2 separate regions of the Homo sapiens genome follow, and region 1 is linked to region 2. Evidence: promoter capture Hi-C in 16 types of primary human blood cells and fetal thymus (Javierre and others, 2016). All regions are on one chromosome and are shown on one strand. The core of a region is centred on a gene start or on the middle of the fragment in contact, and the rest is flanking DNA. Distances in the headings are between cores, read along the strand shown.

The links. Contacts are between HindIII fragments. The CHiCAGO score rates a contact against its expected background, and 5 or more counts as called.
Region 1: a contact is called between a fragment that was not itself captured here and the fragment with the promoter of MRPL36 in region 2, in 2 of 17 cell types (erythroblasts and total B cells). The highest score is 10.2, in erythroblasts.

What each region holds. Positions count from the first base shown.
Region 1 is chr5:6,625,181-6,631,446 of GRCh38, forward strand. NSUN2 (NOP2/Sun RNA methyltransferase 2) reads right to left here. Exons shown (of 19, transcript NM_017755.6): 4 at 384-489. Among named protein-coding and RNA genes, the nearest start is that of NSUN2, 4.7 kb to the right of the region's middle. The HindIII fragment of the contact is 218 bases long and covers 4,724-4,941 here.
Region 2 is chr5:1,793,927-1,801,144 of GRCh38, forward strand. It overlaps MRPL36 (mitochondrial ribosomal protein L36), which reads right to left and starts at 5,911. Exons shown (of 2, transcript NM_032479.4): 1 at 5,866-5,911; 2 at 4,459-5,021. The coding sequence starts at 5,009. The coding sequence ends at 4,698. RefSeq lists enhancers at 403-512, 6,871-6,920, 6,981-7,110 and a silencer at 5,381-5,790. The HindIII fragment of the contact is 7,489 bases long and covers 989-7,218 here.

The DNA of each region.
Region 1 (6,266 bases), core at 3,583-6,082, 4.8 Mb after region 2:
AAAAACCTATTCCCTACCAAGATGGCCTTAAAAACATACTACTTTTTATGTACAACAGGCATCTGAAATGTGTACCTAAGAAGGAAATGAGAGTGCAGTGCTCACCCCAACCCTATAGCCATCCAAATACACAAGCAAGAGGAAACAAGAAATTAACTAGCTGGCATCGATATCCTTACTAAATTTCATGACTAGATAAACCAAACAAGGCAACGGATATACAAATAATCAGAAATCACAGGTGGTGCACACACTGCAGTTGTCTTTACTGTGTGTGATGTCCACCTACTGCTTCTAGTGACAAGAACCTAAAAACAGAACTACACTACATCTATGCATTTACAGCTTTAAGGAAACTAGCAAGTCTAAAGAAATCAACTTACAGATTCTGTTTCACTAACTAGAAACTGATGAAACTTTTCCAAGTGTGGCGATTTTCTCAAGATTTTTCGACTTAAATTTGTGTGCCAGGCAAGTTCTTCAGGATACCTGACCAAAAAGAAAGCAAAACATTTATGGATTATAAATACTAAAGTCGTCTGTTGACAACTTTGTGCTTCTATCAGTCGCATGCCAAATGAGACTTCGAATGTTGTTCTCCCTGCTCCTATTCACAATCCTCTACGGACAGTCAGCAACACTCAGAGATGTCGCTGTAGGCTTAAGGAACATGGCTCTAGCTACACCGTGGCCCAATCAGAAACAGGAGAGCCATGGGGGTTACAAGATTATGCATATTACTGTAAAATTATAATGATGAAACGCTCGAGATCAGATGAAAAAGCGGACACTCCTCTGCTCTTCACCATTATAAGGTAACAATGGTAAGGTCATCAGAAAAAAAAGATACAAGATGACTTACTTAATGTGCAGATCACACAGAATCAAAATAATGCAGTGTCAGAGTGTCCCACAAATACCTGATTAGTTTTTTAAAAAATATATTTTTCATTATTTCTAACACCAGTTCAATAATGCACTAAAATATTTTACATACCAAAAAAATCCTACCTTGGAAACCACTAATGCATTAACTTGAGCTCCTAGGCTGTTACCTATATATAACTAAGAATAAAGCATTTCCTGCCATCATATCTGTGAATATATTTGAACTTTCTATAAATGATGACATCAATGTTATTTTTATTTTTTTTATTTTTTTTAATTAGGGGAGAAATGGGGGATACTAAAAACACTGCCTTTTTTTTTTTGAGACAGTCTCACTGTCACCTAGGCTGGAGTGTAGTGGTGTAATCTCAGCTCACTGTGACTTCTGCCTCCTGGATTCAAGTAATTCTCATGCCTCAGTCAGCCACCTGAGTAGCTGGGATTACAGACGTGTATTTTCAGTAGAGATGTGGTTTTGCCGTGTTGGCCAGCTTGGTCTCGAACTCCTGGCCTCGAGTGATCCGGCCGCATCAGTCTCCCAAAGTGTTGGGATTACAGGCATGAGCCACTGTACCCCACCCAGGATGTGCTTTGAAACTTGGCCTGCACCTATACAGGCATCTGCACCGTACAAATGAGCACACTGATGTCATGCAGCACCATGCTCAATCCAATGCCAAACCAAGTGTACCACGTCACACGGCCATAAATCTTAGTGTAGTTTCAGCAATTCTCACTAAACCTGAGATGCAGTAATACACTCAATTTAACAATGCAGGCTCACAATGTTTCCATGCGTCAAATTGTAGCTAGAGTGAAAACCATGAAAATAAAACTGGAATGTCTGGAAAACACAAACACATTTGACTGCTTTTAAACTCTGATTTTTTGATGGAAACAAACTCAGGACTTAAAAGCCCGACACTGCTCAAGTCAAAATATTACAAAATATACCTGAAAAGCATTTTCTACCAAATAATGAAGACGAAACTGGCTGAATCTGTCCACGGCCACCCTCCAAAGGTCCCCAGCGCTTTGATTCTATCTCATATAGCCCAGTTCCCTCCTCGACATTTAATGTGTTCAAAAATATAAAGCCAAAAGAAAATCATATTCATAAGGCAATTTTAAAAAGAATTGTTTTAAATAATCTTTTGGACTCATTAGAGGCGAAATAGTAGGTTACATGCAAATTTGGCATTTGCTATAGTATTGGGCAAATATCTGCTGTGCCACTGTAACCTCTACTTGCAAACAGCCAAATGCCAGCTCATATAGTATCTGGTCTTCCTGAACTTGTCTGTCTCAAAGCTAGTACGATCATGTAAGTTATTGCCTTACCAAATCACTAAGACATCAATATGAACACCACATGCCATTTAGACTTATTGTAAAGAGCTGAATTTTCATTTTCAAATATAGATAAGCAGTCTAGATATACTTTGAACAAATATAGCCTTATATGTCTTTTTCGTCAAATTTCTGATAGTCAAAATGTAAACGTACTATTACAAGATTAAAATTCTACAGTATTTATAATTGTGAAGGCTGTTGATCTCATGTAAAGAAACATTTAGGAACTCTGAAATATTTAAATACAAACAGAAACTAACAGATAAATGTTTATTTCCTCTGGGTACAGAGAACAGCCTGGGCAACAAAGCGAGGCCCTGTTTCTACAAGAAATGTTTTTAAATTATGTTTCTTATACAGCTTTAGGAACAGCATCATCTTTTTATGAACCAAAAAATGTTTATTAAATCTTTGTAGATTTTAACATCAAACAAAATGAGAGGTATATTTAATTTTTAGTTACTTACTTCAAATTTAGCTTGTGTCTTTTAAGAAAAAATCCTATTTGGGCTTTTTAGAGGATAAGTTAAAAGGACCACTGTCATCTTTGCATATTAAAAATTCTCAAGTGGTAAGGACTCTGTAAATATATACAACATCTATGACAAACCATCCTCAATCTAGACATTAAAAAGCACGTAACAGGCGAGGTGCAGTGGCTCATGCCTGTAACACCAGCACTTTGGGAGACCAAGGTGGGCGGATCACTTGAGGTCAGGAGTTCAAGACTAGCCTGTCCAACATGGCAAAACCCCAACTGTACAAAAAATAGAAAAAATAGCTGGGTATGGTGATGGGGGCATGTAATCCCAGCTACCTGGGACGCTGAGGTGGGAGGATCACCTGAGCCCAGGAGGTGGAGGTTGCAGTGAGCTGAGATCATGCCACTGCACTCCAACCTGGGCAACAGAGACCTTGTCTCAAAAAAAAATATAAGTAAACAGCACATAAATAGAATGATAATAAGGTGCACTCTGAACAATTGGTTGTCAAAACAATGCTTCTATAAGAATGCTTTAGGATAATTTCTCATTGTTCTGAGTCTATGGAAAGTAAGAAAAAAATGAAACTGGCCCAAGCTATGGTCCTATACATAACTTTCCTTCTAGAAAATGTAATTTCAAAAAACGTTTTCCTAAATTATATTTCACTATGTACCAGAGGATTGGGAAGAATATTACATGATCTATTCCTGCATCTTGAGCAATACAGAAAATTACCAGAAGTCCTGGAAAGCTTCTGCTTTACTTGCTTGCTGAGAGATTTAGTACCCTAAAACTGACAGATGAATTTGAATAAATAAATGTTTAGAGAATACAGCTGCCAAGAAACTGGCATTGGCCAGGAATGGTGGCTCATGTCTGTAATCCCAGCACTTTGGGAAACCAAGGCAGGAAGATTGCTTGAGCCCTGGAATGCAAGACCAGCCTGGGCAACAAGGTGAAACTCCATCTCTACAAAAAAATAAAAAAAATTAGCCAGGCGTGGTGGCATGCACCTGTAGTCCGAGCTACTCAGGAGGCTGAGGTGGGAGGATCACTTGAGCCTAGGAGGTCAAGGCTGCAGTGAACCGTCATGACATCACTGCACTCCAGCCTGGGTGACAGAGTGAGACCCTGTCTCAAAATAAAATATAGAGAAACCATCATTGATAATGGAAAAAGCCAAATATTAGAAACCCAGATCTACAATGTTTTGTTCATACCCTTCAGCTGTGTGTTCAGAAAATTAAAGCAAACAAAAACATAGCTGGCTGTTGGCAGAGAGCAATTCACCTTCATTCTTCAACTACAGACAACCTGCAGATTCTAAGAGTTTGGTAATTACCTTGTCATATACCCAGACACATTGTTAAACAAGGTGGAAAAGCAGCTATGAAATGTTAAAAGGGCTGATCAAATCCAAGTGTAACTGTAGTTTGCAGAGAATAATAAAAAACTAGCAAGCCTTATTGACATCGTATGGTTTCTCCTAGTTTGTTGGAGCCTGCAGAAGAAAATGCCCACATGGAGGTGCCTTAAGAGCACACCTCTTCCCTATAGACACATGCTGAAACGTTCCTCCTGGACAGGAACTTCTTCATCTTAAAAGCATTTCTTATCCCGTCTCTGCGCTTCTAAACACAAGGTTTTAGAAACAAATGTTTCCAGGTGATTGTGTGAAGCAGCACATACATGCATCACTGCTAAAAATACAAACATGCCCGAGGAGAATCGTAATCCTGTCTTCTTAAAATATTTTAGATGGTTTGGCTCTGTGTTCCCACCCCAATTTCACCTTGAATTGTAATATTCCCCACGTGTCAAGGGCAGGACGAGGTGGAGATAATTAAATCCCCGGGCCGTTTCCCTCATGTTGTTCTCACAACAGTGAGTTCGTTCTCAGGGGGAGATCTGATGGTTTATTAGGGGCTTCTTCCTTTGCTCAGCACTCATTCTCTCTCCTGCCACCCTGTGCAGAGAGATCTTCCGCCATGATTTTAAGCTTCCTGAGGCCTCCCCGGCGATGTGGAAATGTGAGTCAATTAAGCCTATTTCCTTTATCTATACATTACTCAGGTATGTCCTTATAACAGTGTGAAAATGGACTACTACAGTATCAGACCTCTACTTCAAGTACAACACAATCAGTGTCGTCAATCAAATCTTCAAACCAAACGACTTGAGCAAAGTCTACAACCTAGTTACCAGGAGGAAGAAAAGCTTGATCTCGTGAAGGTTACCTCATCTCAGCAATGCCATAACTAGAGGCTGAAAAACATCTACCTTTTCCACTGATCTCACTACAGTGGACAATTAGTGACCACTAACAGCAACGTAGCACCCGTATCATTTTCCTATACTGTACCCTTCAAGCTTTTAAAAATCTAAGATGTGGCATATCTATTCTTTTTTCCCTTTTTGAGACATGGTCTCGCTCTGTGGCCCAGGCTGGAGTGCAGTGGCATGATCTTGGCTTACTGCAACCTCCACCTCCTGGGTTCAAGCGATTCTCATGCCTCAGCCTCCCTAGTGTCTGGGATTACAGGCGTGTGCCACCATGCCTGTCTAATTTTTGTATTTTTAGTAGAGATAGGGTTTCACGATGTTGGTCATATTTATTCCTATATCCCAGCAACACATTCCATGATGGTGATATTCGGTCTTGATACTGGTTGAATACTGACTTAATGTTTGGCCAGTCAGCATTCATTGTGAATGTATATGCTTATCTGTGATAGGGACAATGAAAATCCAAATAGCCAATGAAAGAAAAACAAGCAAATCTGTACCCCATGATTAATGAAAATCTGACCTTGATTTGCGAACACTAAAGGTTATCCAAAAAGGAAAGATAACACTACGTACTGGAATAGTCAAAACCTCAAAAGTTGATGCAAAACGCTTAATTTGGCAGGGCGCAGTGGCTCACGCCTGTAATCCCAGCACTTTGGGAGGCCGAGGTGGGCGGATCATGAGGTCAGGAGATGAGACCATCCTGGCTAGCAAGGTAAAAACCCGTCTCCACTAAAAATACAAAAAAATTGGCCGGGCGTGGTGGCGGGCACCTGTAGTCCCAGCTACTCGGGAGGCTGAGACAAGAGAATGGCGTGAACCAGGGAGGTGGAGCTTGCAGTGAGCCAAGATGGTGCCACTGCTCTCCAGCCTGGGCGACAGAGTGAGACTCCGTCTCCAAACAAACAAACAGACAAACAAAAAACGGCTTAATTCACCTTTTCGTGCATTACTTTTCTGAGAACTCAATACCTCAAAGTTAATAATAACGACTTTCCCACTTATGTAAGTTAACTGAAGGACTGGCGCCTCCGGAGTTCTCCAAGCATCTTTACAAGATGCTATCAGCACAAGGGATCACCTTCATACAACTGAGACTAGAACCGAGCCATGAGGAATAGGTAACCCAGAAGGCACCTCCAGGACAGGTCAAGAAAGAGGTAGCTCCCAGAGTAGTAGCACGCTTGGGTGCTGAGACTCGGAAATGCTACATTGGCTGGTGCAGTCTGTACTGCGAAGTACCAGGAGACA
Region 2 (7,218 bases), core at 4,661-7,160:
ACTGTCTTGCAGTGTGTTGCTGCAGAACTTTTCTTACAAAGTTACCTAAATACGGTGGCTTCGAAAAACGTGCTTAGATTTATGTTTTTTACTTAAATGGAAACGTATTTTGCACACGGTTGTACAACTTTTTTTTGCATATTTAATATTCAGAAATATGTCTTGGCGTTGAGTTTCGAGATGGCTTGTGGCGAGCCACGCCGTTTGCCCTAGGGCTGCTTGGTTACCATTTGTTGCAGGGCTCTGTGGTTACCAGGAGCCTGTGTGACCACTGACTTCACATCTGCCCTTCGCTGAACGTGTATTTCTAGAAAAATCCAGTGTCAAACTTGTCCCACACTCCAGTGCCAGAGGTGCTGAGGGTTCTCTTGGGCAGGACCGTTCAGCAAAGTCCACAGAGCAAAATGGGAGCTTGGCCTTAAAAGGGGTGAGCAAGCAGGAGGCGGGCCTCCTCTCATGAGCAGGCACGGAGGTGCTGGTCTGCCTTCGCTGGCCGAGTGCCCGCTGCAGGCTGGGCTGGTGGGAGACGTACGGACACAAACACGGCTGGGAAGCAGGCTCTGCCTCCACGCAGCATGCTCATCTGTCCGGGCTGCAATAACAAAATTCCACCAACGGCTTACAGACAAGAAACTGGTTTCTCACAGATCTGGAGGCTGAAGTCCAGCATCAAGGCGCCGGCAGCTTCCGTGTCTGGTGGGGCTTCCTGGCTCACAGACAGGGCTCCTCCTCACATGGTGGATGGGGCGAGCTGGCTCTCTGGACTCCCTTTTCTCAGGCCCAAACCCCATCACAAGGCCCTGGAGCAGGACTGAGTCACCTCCTGAAGGCCCCGTTCCAAAGCACTCCCACGGGGGATTAGGTTTCAACACAGGAATTTTTGGCGACACAAACATTGAGACCACAGCACCCAGCTCTCTGGGTTCCCAGAACCCTGTGGGAGGGCTGGGTCGCGCCTGCCCCCTTTTAAACACGAGGCTTCCATGGAAGCTTCTTGCCGGAGGCTGGACACTGAGGAATGGACAGGATCAACACTCTTCCACCGGCTCTTCCACCTCCCGATCACTTCCACCATCGCTGGGGGAAGAACGAATGCACCGCGTGGAGTGCTTCCGCCACAAAGCAGCACATCACCTCTGCTCGGAGACCCTGCTGGTGACCCTCAGCCAGCCTCATAGGCCACAGCAGGTCTCACAGCCATGCCCACTCGCAGGGAGGCAGGGAAGCCCCAGCCCCCACCGGTCCGGCACAGGAAGGAGACCTGGACCCTGGGAGTGCCGGTCTCGCCTCCCACTCTCCTGGGTGAGTGACAGCGACGCTGCCAGGTGGGTGGTCCATCAGTTAGACCTGGTCCGTGAGTAGCCTCCTAGGTGGATACAAACATGACAGCGTCCCACAGAGCACCTCGCCTCCTTCTGGAAATGCATAGACAGCTCCTATGTTCTTCTCTCCATCTGGGCATCATTTACTCTTCCTTCACTTGCACTGCTGTCCCCAGTTGATCTTACTTTAAAAGTCCCTCAGAGAATAACCTAATAACGTACACCTGAATAGCACTTCTAACTTCTCACAGTATTTTCAATCCGTCTTTCAGTTCATTGGCACCACACCTTCAGGAGACAGGGAGGACATTGGCAAGACAGGGCTGGCATCTGGCAGGGCCCCAGGCCACCCGTAGGTCTCGCGAGTGCAGGGACAGCTCCTGACAGGATGACCCTGCCGGCCCACGTGCCCACTCCTCCTCTCTCTGCAGTCGCCTTTCTCTGTGCCCATGAGGACCTGCTCAGCCCACCTTTGGGTGGCTTGGAAGTGCCTGGGATTTAAGTCCCCACACGGTCACCCTCAACCACCAGTGACGAGCATCTGTGGATAAACGCCCCCCCCCCCCCAGTCCTCATCCCCTACAGGACACCAAGGTCCATTCCGCCAGAGCTCAGGGGACACAACAAGGTGGCACCCGGTGTCGCTCTGGTTCTGTGCCCTGGAAGCTCCTCTCCCTCCCTGACTCACATCCCCACTCCCCATCCTGACTTCCGAGATCACCTCCCAGTGGTGCACCTGCATCCCAGCCCTCGTCATGGCAGGCGGCAGCAACCCTGGTTCATTGATGGGGAAACGTGTTGCCCCCCAGGGAGTGCTTGACAGTGTCTGGGGCACTTTTGGTTGGCCCTGCTTGTGTGTGGGGTGCTCCCGACATCTTGTGGTGGAGCCCAGGGATGCTGAACACCCGGCAGTGCCCAGGATGGGCCCGGAGCACAACCCAGCCCCAGATGTCCACAGTGCCGATGCCCAGGATTCCTGGCCTGGTTCTGCAGAATTCTTTTATTAATCACTTATTCTGGACTGAAGCCTGGATAGGTAATTATCAGCCTTAGATTTCTACTCAAGCAAAATTAGCAGAATCCCACCTTTCCCCGTTGGATCAAGCGTGCCATGAAATCCATGCCTTCTTTATTCCTTCCTGTTGGCTCCTGTGCCACGCTGCCTTGCTGGGGATTTGTCTGTGCAATTGTCAAGAGGCCACGACTGTGTGCCCACGTTTGCATGGCACGTAAGCACATCACACCCAACTGCAGGCATGCAGCCGGTGGTCAGGTCTCCCCCCAGAGCACTGCGTACTGCAGAAACACACCCAGTTTTCATCCACGCAGGATGGCTTGGATGCCCCCTGCCCGTGCCCAGCCTCAGGCCCCTCCTCGGGTTGCCTCCCCTGCAACCAAAGTTTCAGCTTGGCCGTCATCCCCTGCAGGGAGCATCCTTGACCTCTTGCCTTGGAGGGCCTGGCATGCTTCACACACAGCACTCACCAGCCTGTTTCACACGCTCCTACGCAGTAAGGGTGTGAGGGCAGCAGCACCTCTTCTCCTCCTCACCCCAGGGCCCAGGCTAAGGGTGCTCGGGAAGCATCAGCAAGCCATGCTGGGGGCTGTCAGGACCCTGTGGTTCTCAAAACCACATCACCCACCCCGTGAGAGATCAGAGACATGGACAGCACACGCTGGCTGAAGGTTGCAGTCTGCTGAGGGTCACTACAGCGGTGCCACTGACCCATCACACCCTCCCACACTGCCTGTTCAGGTAGTGTATGCAGACACACGCGTATATATGTGGACACACTCATGCATGCACACACACGTGCCATATACACACATGCACGCACACACACACGCTTGAGGAAAGTCCTCTCTCTTGCTGAACTATTCTCAGCCCCAGTGCATAACAGGTCTCCTAGTGGGGTCTGGCTTCTGACACTTTCAGGGGCCCCCGTGACAGACACTCTAGTGCATCAACTCCTCACTTAAGAACGGCTCGAGAGAGGGCTTCCCTTTCACTGCACAACAGAAGCAGGCTCTTCGCAGAGCTGGTTCCCTTTTCTTTCAGGTAATAACGCTCTCCACCTTCTTCAACTGGCCAGACGCCTGCGGGCTGCAATGCCCATGTCAAGCTGCTTGCAGAGGCCCTTTGTGAGGGTGAATGGGCACAGCACAGAGTTCACAGCAACACACACCGGCGTCTGCTCCCCCTGGAGAAGTGATGTGGGTGCTGGGGAGGAGCTTTGGCCCTCATGTGGCCATGCTGCCCCCTCTGCCGCCCCACCAGGCCTTTCTGGGTGACCCTGCTGCGCCCCTGCTGCTGATCTGGGCAGGAGGGCGCTCCCCCCGCGCTAGGCTTCTTGCGTGGTCTCCTGTCTCACAAAACTCCTTTCTGGGAGAAGGGGAGGTGTCCCTGGCCAGGAGGAAAGGAGCCGTGAGAAGGCTGTCGCATCTCAGCATCTGCTCTGGGTTGGACTGTGCTCCCCACCCCCAAATTCATGTTGATGACAGTGCTCCCCCAAGGCATGGGGCTCACTCAACTATGAATCCCGATGACCAGGGAAGGACCAGCCCACTCCATCCCTCCAAGTCCTTACCAGTTGTAGGTGTGGTCATCCTCTAGCAAGGGGAGCTCCTTGCCTCCCCCTGAATCTGGGCTCACCCTAGGGACTGAAAGAGTGCGGTAGAAATGACACGCTGGAATTTCTGAGGCTGGGTCATAGGAAGCCTCGTAGCATCTGCTTGGGTCTCTCGGGACACTCTCGGGAAGCTCACTGTGGGGCAGTGCAAGCCACGCTGTGGGCCCTGCCTGAGGAGGTGCTACGTACAGCCTGAGGAGCACTGAGACCCCAGACAGGAGAGCCGGTGCCATCTTGGAAGTGGGTCCTGCAGTTAATGCCACACAGATCAGACAAACTGCTCAGCTGAGCCCATCCCAAATGCCTCACAAAATCGTGAACAATGTAAAATGGCTGATTTAAGCCACCAAGCCTTGGCTTGTACAGCGACGGGTGACCAAAACACCACTTCTTCCAAGAGGCTCTAAGCAGCCTCACGGAGACATAGAGAAGTCCTGCCCAGCCTCACCCAGCACCATCCAATCCCTACCTGCAGCCTGAGTTCAGAGAGAATGAATGAACTAAGCTATTCGGAAGGTCTATTTTAATAGGAAAATGTTTTTTAGTTGGAACGTTTTGGAAATAAGATAACGCAATGTCTTCTATAGTTACTCATTTACACTGAAACGTGATGGGTAACTTTTAGGGCGTTTGCTTCCAGTCACTTTCCCCTGACTCCTTGATGTGATAATTCCTTCCATAAGATACAACCATTCTCCCAAGTGATGCGATGACGAGTATGTGCGTGACTCTGGAGGGAAAGGGTCTACATCTGTCTCTGCTTGTGCCTCGGATGGGTTTTACAGTAGACGTACCACCGACCCCGCCTCTTCACCAGGTAACAGTCCTTGCAGCGCTTCTTAAGGACAGTCTTGTTTTTGAACCCCAGCGCAGGCAGCAGATGGGGCAGGAGGCCGGGTGAGAGAAGTGAGCGCACTGCTGCCCCGGGTTCCACAGCCACGGGGGCTGCACCTCGAATGGATCCAAATAGAAATGTGGAGAGGGCTCGAGGCTTCACCGTGTGACGACTGAGATAGAGCAGAGGGTTCACCATTTTCCTTATAAAAAGATTTGCCATGTTGTGGTGAATCTATGGGAGAGAGAAAAAAAGGAGTTATAGCTTCTCCTGCACTTCCACCTGCTCTTTAAGGCTTCCTTTTCTCTGTTTCACTGAGGCTTGGGAAGGCAGGGACCTCGGGGACTGAGGGTGTTCCCATACCAGCTGCAGCCTCGACCTGAGCTTGAACACTGCCTTAATCAGCCAAGTGTGCCAGGAGAATAAGGGGCAGTGGACGGTGGCTTCCTTCCCTTTCCCGCCTGCTGCAAGTGTAGGTGAGTGTGCAAAGCCCTGCGATGTTGAGGAGCCGCTCACTTGGCTGGGAGGGAGCTTAAACTTAGGCCGCATCCCTTTCCAAACAGACACCAGGTCAAGGACGGTTCAACTGATGAGCTCCTCCCTCCAACTCTTCCCAGACCCAGGGGCCCTCCCTCGGGCCAGTTTCGGGACAGGCCCCCGCTCCGGAAGAGCACGGAACTCTGGCACCCCGGTCGCCCGCCCCTGCTTCCCCACGCGCCCCGGCCCTTAGGGTTCAGCGGCCCCGGCTGGGAAGAGCTGGGCCTGCAGGGCCCGGAGGACACTGCGGCACCGGAGCCGGCCCTGCGCGCGGGCTGTGAGGTCGCGTTCGGGAGCCGCCAGTTCTCCCGCCCCGGGGTCGCTGGACACCCCCTCCTGTCGCCAGGTCGGGCGCCCACGGTCGGACCCGCACCCCCCAACCCTGGCCCTCTGAGACCGCCAGGCCCCGGCCCACGCTCCTCTGACCGCAGCCCACTCGGGGAGACACGCCCGAGGGTCCCAAGGTGGCCGGCCCCACCCTCTCGCAGCCCCCACTCTCAAGACACCCGGGACCCCTGACCTGAGAAGACGGCTCCCTTACCCGGCCGCACGCTCTCACCCGGCGCCGACCCCTGCGTCTGCGCACTGGCACGCGGACGCTGCTGCCAGGAAGGAAGATGGCGGCGGGGGGGGGGGTCACGTGGCGTGCCCACGTCCAGTGCGGGGCGCAGAGACGCAGCAGCGAGTGCGCAGGCGCTGGAGTGCGACGTATCACTCCCCGACTGCGCGCACTCTGCGGGCCACCGGGATCGTCGTGCTGTTTGGAGCGCTCTCGGGAAAAAAAATGCAAAAACCAGGAACGAAAATGGATATCCGCAACGAAAAAGAAATTACAACCACTTAGGCCTTAGAAAAAACTGGCAAATACCAATGTCAAAACAAACTGAGAAAGAGGACATGTTTTTAAGTGGACAGGAGAAATGTAAACAGGCTCCGGGAAACGAGTGGAGACGGGCAGTAGTTTCAACTGGTTACGGCTGTTTTCCCCAACATTATGAAAAACTTCGGACATAGAGAAAAAGGGAAAGAACTGTACGGTGAACACCCATATACTTGCCACCTAGATTCTACCCTTAGCTCGCTTATCCCTGCCTTTTCAGGTATCTACCCGTAACTCCATTCGCCTTCCTTTTTGTGTGTGTCCGGGTGAGTTGCAGACGTGGCTGCGTCCACTCCGCGCTCCCTGCAGGCCCCAACGCTTCATCGCAGCGCCCACTTTTTCCACCTGACCCGGCGAACACCGGGCGGGCCGCTGGAGTTTATCAGCTCCAGGACAAATCTGCCTCTGACCACCACGTTTGCTGGGACATCTTTGGGACCGGAGGTTTTCATGTGCATTCTTGTTTCTCATGCCTTTCCTCCTCTTTATCATCTTCCCCGCCACTCATCCATCTCTAGTGTTTTGTTCTTGGAGTCACGTGGTCCTCAGGCTCTGACCACAGCAAAAGAAAAGCTGGATGCTGGAGCTTAAGCTGGGATTTATACCCAAGTCAACTCTAAGCAAAACGGGCCTTTTTAGAGGCTGTATTTGCATGCTGTAAAATCAGTCGGTGTACTAGGCTTTGTTGCAGAAATCCCCAATATACGTTTCCTCTGCGGCTCCCCGTAACCACACACAGGAACGCTTGCCTTGAACGAGGAGAATGCACTTCCAGTCTCGTCTGCTAAGCAGTTGACTCCTTCACCCAATAATTTTGATATTTAAATGTCTCATGATTATCGGTTACCATAAGAATATAAACAATGTATTTTCAGTTTACATCCTCCCCTGCCTGTCCGCTAAATAAGAACCACTGGGTACTCCTAATCGCTGAAGGTTTCGCACACCATTGCCTGCCTCATCAGGGCCCTAGCTCTAGCCTGCGGCTGCAACTGCATGAGGCTGCACCTGCCG